Regions from separate parts of the Homo sapiens genome. Here region 1 is linked to region 2. The links are contacts of gene promoters, found by promoter capture Hi-C in blood cells and fetal thymus (Javierre and others, 2016). All regions are on one chromosome and are shown on one strand. The core of a region is centred on a gene start or on the middle of the fragment in contact, and the rest is flanking DNA. Distances in the headings are between cores, read along the strand shown. Region 1 overlaps COPS8-DT (COPS8 divergent transcript). Region 2 holds the start of DRC11 (dynein regulatory complex subunit 11).

The links. The method cuts DNA at HindIII sites, captures the fragments that hold promoters and counts their contacts. A CHiCAGO score of 5 or more calls a contact.
Region 1: a fragment that was not itself captured here is called in contact with the fragment with the promoter of DRC11 in region 2 in 1 of 17 cell types (M2 macrophages); the score reaches 7.0 in M2 macrophages.

Annotation. Positions count from the first base shown.
Region 1 is chr2:236,976,235-236,979,371 of GRCh38, reverse strand. The region is part of intron 1 of COPS8-DT (COPS8 divergent transcript); the gene reads left to right. Among named protein-coding and RNA genes, the nearest start is that of COPS8-DT, 110 kb to the left of the region's middle. The HindIII fragment of the contact is 4,273 bases long and covers 1-3,137 here.
Region 2 is chr2:236,505,916-236,509,284 of GRCh38, reverse strand. DRC11 (dynein regulatory complex subunit 11) reads left to right here and starts at 1,809. Exons shown (of 19, transcript NM_024726.5): 1 at 1,809-2,028. The coding sequence starts at 2,018. RefSeq lists a silencer at 1,634-1,683. The HindIII fragment of the contact is 24,475 bases long and covers 1-3,369 here.

The DNA of each region.
Region 1 (3,137 bases), core at 79-2,578, 470 kb before region 2:
CTGCCTCCCAAGTTCGAGGATTCTCCTGGCCCAGCCTCCCAATTAGCTGGGATTACAAGCATGCACCACCACCTCTGGCTAATACTTTGTCTTTTTAGTACAGACTGGGTTTCACCACGTGGGCGAGGCTGGTCTCGATCTCCTGGCCTCAAGTGATCCTCCCACCTCAGCCTCCCAAAGTGCGGCGGTTACAGGCACGAGCTACAGCGCCCGGCCTAAATTTAACAGAGTTTAATTGAGCAAAGAATGATTCATAAATCAGGTAGCCTCCAGAGCCAGAGTAGGCTCAGAGAGTCCAGCACAGCTAGGTGGTGGAAGATGATTTATAGACAGAACAAAGGAAAGTGATGTACAGAAGATGGAAGTGAGGTACAGAACTGGCCAGATTGGTTACAGCTCAGCATTTGCCTTATTTGAACACAGTCCAAAGAGTTGACCACCATAGATTGGGCAAAACTCAGTGATTGGCACAAGAGTAGGTTACAGTCTGTTTGCACTTCCATTTAGGTTATAGCTCACGATGTACAGAGAAACCTTAGGCCAAACTTAAAATATTGGCTGGTGACATTACTTTTAATGGCAAAAACTGCAATTACTTTTGCACCAACTTTTGCACCAATAGGTAAGGAGGCAGTTTTAGGCTAAAGTCAATTTAACAGATTTATTCTGAAAACTTGCTTTATCTGTTGCCACATAAAAAACAACCTCCAGGCTGGGCGTGGTGGCTCACGCCTGTAATCCCAGCACTTTGGGAGGCCGAGGCGGGCAGATCACTTGGGGTGGGGAGTTCGAGACCAGCCTGACCAACATGCAGAAACCCCATTGCTACTAAAAAATACAAAATTAGCCAGGTGCAGTGGCGCCTGCCTGTAATCCCAGCTACTCAGGCTGAGGCAGGAGAATCACTTGAACCCGGGGGGGCAGAGGTTGTGGTGAGCCAAGATCACGCCATTGCACTCCAGCCCAGGTAACAAGAGCGAAACTCCATCTGAAAAACAAAACAAAACAAAAAATCAATCTCAAAATGTAGCAGATTCAAACAACCATGGTTTTATTTGTTCTTGATTTTCTGGGGCTAGAATTTGGGATGATGTTTCTTCTGCTTCACGCAGGTTGGCTGGGATAATTCACTCGGCTGCATTCAGCTGGTGCCTGGGCTTGGCTGGGAGGCCAAGAAGGCTTCACTCACAAGCCCGCCCGTGTGTGCTCCTGCTTCTGCCAACTTCTATTGGTCAAAAAGGTTGCAGGACCTGCCTGAATTCAAGGGAAGGGGAAATAGACTCTTCTTAAGGAGAGACAGCAAAGCCACAATACAAAAGAACATGTGTGATGGCAGAGAGTGCTGTCACCATCTCTGGAGACAAATCTACCACTCTAACTTTCACTTCTTTACAAGCTGAGATTACCCTGCAAATTGGAATTTTTATATGTGAGGAAAAATTAATATTTATAGGATCCCTACCATATGCTGAGTGCTGTGCTAACTACTTTCACGTAGAATTTCTCCTTTGCTGCGACCTATATTTTCTGTAGACCTAATCTCTGGGTTCATTTGAACCATCTGCTGATGGAAAGGCAGTAGCTCATAGCTGGTCCGTCCATAAAGGAGGATGCATGACAATTCCGACAGGTGGAACCTCTCTAGCTTCCTTCCACACGCAAGAACAACCCTAAACTTGTTCTCTTTGTCCCTGGGGATCACGGGATACCGACTTGCATTCCTAAAACAGCTCATATCACACTGTTGTTCATTTGGCCTCCCAGGGGATGGAGGCTTATCTCTTTAGAGATTCTGTTATTATTGAAAAGAAATCATTTCTATGACTCTGGGTATCCAACTAAAACTTGTACAAACAGAAGATATTGGATGGGCAGCTCCCTGGCAACTCCCTCCTATTCAACTGTAATACGCCCTCCTCCAGCTATTCAGAAACTACAAACTAAGGCGGTAGCCCCATGATGTCTGTATAAGAACTGATGACAGGCACACCCAGAGGCTTACAGGGTGTTTGTACGGAACATCAGCCCTGCGGGACCTTCCTGATTTATCCCTTTTGAAACTCTTGACTGTGCTTCAAAAGTAAAGAATAAAACAATAACCTGCCTGTGTACCACAGGGCAACTCTACTGCAGTAAAAACAGCAGAGGCAGGGAAATTGCATCCACCAGAAATTAACCTGCAGTCAGAGGAGAGTTGTGACATCAGCAGAGTTGGTGTCTCTGGAGTCAAAAGGGAAAGTTCTGGGACCTTCTAGCAGGGAGGTCGTGGAAAAGGCAGGAGCGGCCCCAGATTTCTAATAGGGGCAATTTGCTTTTAAATGTTGTAGACACTTTAAGAGTAGTGTAGGGATTTCAAACGTTTATTAGGCAAATGAGGAAAGAGAGGCCCAAGTGGGTGAGGCAACTTGACCAGGGTCAGTGAGCTGGAGTGTGGCAGAGCAGCTTCTGGACCCCAAGTTTCCTCATCTCCAGCCCAGCCCTCTTTCCAAATACACCCTTCCTCCAACCCTGACTTTTCTGCCCAACTAATCTTTACCAAGTGACCCTGAAGTGGTGAAGGGGAAAATTCCACTTGGTCAGAGCGTGGAGAACAAGGAGGAGGGGGAAGGGAAGGGACAAGGTCAGGGGTTTCTGAGGGATCTTTAGGCAGCCTCAAGCTGGAAGGTGTGTGTGGTGGGCAGGGGAGGTCTCTCTAACACCTCCTACCTCTCCTGATAGCAATAGAGGAGGAAAGGAGTCATTCCTGGCCAGATCGAGGGAGGCCTGCAGCAGCCGGGCCTTCAGGGACGCAGCCGTGTCTAGTGGTTGGAATCTGGTCTCCCATCAAACTGACACAGAAAGACAGAAAAGTCTCTTTGACTGTGAGGTCCTGGTGAGGACACATCTGTGTGAACTTGAGCAACCCAGGGAAGAGGAAGACAGTGGAAAATAGTGCCTGGAAGACAAAGAGAAGAGAATAGAGGCCAGTCGTTAGTCACAATTATTGCAAAAGATCATTGTTCATCTGAAATCACCTCCCTCTTAAATGCAGGTTGGGGCATTTATGAGTGAATTTGTACGTGTGAATATTGCAGAAATAGACAGCTAAGGGCAGAATTCCCCTTGGCCTTGTCTTTGGGACTGTGCTTTAGCAGAAA
Region 2 (3,369 bases), core at 560-3,059:
AGCTGAGCATGGTGGTAGGCGCCTGTAATCCCAGCTACGTGGGAGGCTGAGGCAGGAGAATTGCTTGAACCCGGGAGGTGGAGGTTGCCGTGAGCCGAGATCACACACTGCACTCCAGCCTGGGTGACAGGGGGAGACTCCATCTCAAAACAAACAAACAAAAAAGATTTTTCTGCTTTTATTTATTTGGTTAGATTTTCTCCAGACTTTCTTTCACTTGTCTGGCCTATGTTATAATCCTTTCTTTTCTTCTACTTTTATGAAAGTCTTGGTTTTAGACAGTGGATATGCTGCTTCTTTCTGTCTTATTCCTATTTAACACGTGTTGCTCTTTGAAAATGTTCTGTTTGTTCAAATATAATGTGGGCGAATTCTCTTTGACTGTCTTCTCACTGTATCTGAGTTCCAGAGCTGAGATACTGCACTTTTCTCTGCTTTTCTGGAACCTGAGTACACATTTAGGATAAGGACTGCTCCCTTGAATCCACACAACTTCCAGGCTCTGTGCTCTCTTCTGAGATTTTGATAAGCTCCTTTACCACCATCCTCCCACTCTTGTCACGAGTGTGCCCTATTCCTGTGACAACATGCCCTTTGACTTTGAATCTTTGCCTCAATTCAATGTAGGGACCTAGAAAAAGGCAAGCCCTGGAGATTTCTCCTGTCCCTGCTCAGGTCCTGGGAGCGGTAGGGATTGACCTCCACTCAGGATGGTTTTATCTGGCCGGATTTCCCCAGGTGTTTCCTCGTTCGGCTCACCCTTTCATACCCCTTCTTTTCAGTGTGTGTATTCTTTGCATCAAAAAGCATTAATGAGAATTCTTGGTGTTGTGTCTACTTGGTCTCTGCCCCCTGAAGGGCTTTGGGAGGGTGGAGATGAGGCTGGACACCATTCTCCACGGCAAGCTGCTATTTCACTGAGTTTTTGAAGTTTACGGTACAAGGTTGTACTCAATTTCTCGTCTGAGAAATAATTTGCTCCATTATTTGAAGGCGGTGCGGAGGGCTGGCTTTTACTATGCTTTTGCGCATTTCATTAGTAATGGTGGGGGAGAGGTTTTGTGATCCTGATTATAATTTTTACCTGGATGTCCTCTCCACGCCTTTGACAGCATTAAACCTGGCGTTCCAATAGGAGCTGCAGGGTCTAAAATGTGCAAATAAACCTCAACAGTTACTAAAGTCGAAGAAAGAAGAGCAATGAAAGCCAACACTCATAGCGACTTACGGATAACTGTTAATAGCATCCACACTGCATTTTACATTTACAACGCACCCGCGCCTTAGTTCATACTCATTAAGTCTCCGAAGGGCGCGTCTGCCTAAGTCTTGGGTGCCCAGAATCTAAGTCTGCACTTGGCCCAGAATAGATGCCCAGTAAAGTTCTGAACGAACGACTGTTATACCCAGTTTACAGATGGGAAAACTGAAGACCACCATCATTAAGGGCCTTGCCCAAGGCCGCAGAGCTGACAGTGGATGAAAATGGGGCCAGCAGGAAAGCGGGAAGACGGCCTGGAGGACCACAGGCTAAGTGCTGGGGCCCGGAGCAGGCTCGCCAAGCGGCCGGGCCCCGCGACGGAGCGCTCGGACTCCGACCGGCTCCCACAGCTGCGCCCACCCAGGCCTCCCGCGGTGGCGCAGGCGCGGAATGCGGGGGGCGGGGGGGGGGAGGGGGCAGGCGGAAGGCAATGCGCAGGCGCGGCGTTTCCGTTGCTAGGGCCGCGTCGCGCCCACCTGAGTGGCCGAAGTGAGGTTCGCGAGTCTCTGGGTCGCGACGGGAAGGAGTGAAACACCTCTCTGCGCCTGCGCGCTCCGTGCCTGCGAAGCAAACCCGGCCTCACCTTTTCCTGCCCGAAGCAGAAGATTCTCGCAGTCCTGGTTTCTCCCTCCAGAAGACCCCCCACCCAAATCCTCTGTAGCTCCTGGTAGTGCCCTGACCCCTGCTGCCACCGTCCTTCAGAGAGCAACGGAAGAGCTTCCCGGAGGGCGAGGAAAAGAGGGAAAGTAGCCAGCAATGTCGAACGCGTAAGTGATGGGCTCCCAGCCACAGCCATGGAGTGGGCTTCCCCAAGCCAGAAGGTGGCTTGCTTTCTGCTTCTCTTATTTTCTTTTTTCTTTTCTTTTCTCCTCCCCTCTCAACTTCCCTCCTCTCCCCCACTTTTTTTCCTTTTAGGAAATTCAAATATGCCTCGGGATAGAGTATCTGCTTCTTGTGAGCAAGGAAAATCATACACTTAGATCTCCCCCTCCCCTACGCGTCCCACCACCCCATGGGGATGAGCTCCCAGTCTTCCGTATACCTGCCAAGCCCTTAGGGGCTATTGCTGAGAAGCACTATGCCATTTTGTCTGCTTTTTTTGTTAATCTTTCACGGTAACAAATACGGTGCTTTGTGGAAACACCTAGGTCCTGAAATTTAAGTCTAGAAAGATCTTGGGAAAGCATTATTGACATTTGCTTTTCACAGACTCGAGTGGCATTGGTACTGAAAGAAGTGTGTGCCTAGCACTGTGTCGTTTACACAGCACTTGCACAAAGTTACCTCATTTGGTCTTCGTAAGAATAATTTCCAACAGGTATTACAGCGCTGACCCTGTAGACACTGTTCTAACCGCTTCACAGCAACCCTGTAACGTAGGGGCTGTTAATATTGTTATTTCCATTTTACAGATGAGGGAACTTGGGGATGAAGAGGTGAAGTAGTTCACACAGCAAGTGAACAGTGCCAAGCCGGGCACTGTAGCTCCAGCCTGCACTGTTGCTATTACGTGCCCTGTATTCTAGGCAAGGAAATAAGAGCAGAGAGGTTAAAGGCTTGCCAGGGTTTGGAAATGGGGAAGATCAAGAGTTCTGTTTAAGACGTATTGAGTTGGAAGTGCCCATTGGACATCACGTGGAGATGAAATAGGCAATTAAAATATTCAGATCTTGGGTTCAGGAGCGAGACCCATGTCTGAAATATAAACTTGCTCACTGTCAGCCTGTGATGGTCTTTGTGAGACATAGAATGAATATTAATAAAGAGGTGTAAGGACTGATCCTGGGATCATCCACAGTAAGGCTGGGGGAAGAGGAGACCTGGCAAAGGAATCAAAGACATGATCCATGAGGAAGAAGCGAGTGGAAGAAATAATAGTGTTTCCAGGAGAAGTAACTTCTTTCTCCTCCATCAAGTGCTCCTGAGACAAGTTGGGGTAGAACTGAGAACTGACTGTTGATTTGGCAGTGTGGAGTTCACCAGTGACCTTGACAGGAGCTGATTCAGTGGTATGATGAGATAGAAAGACTTACTCAAGTGAATGTAGGGGGAGAGAAACTATAGATGGTGAGCATAGCTAACTCTTTAAAGGAGTTTTGCTGCAGAGG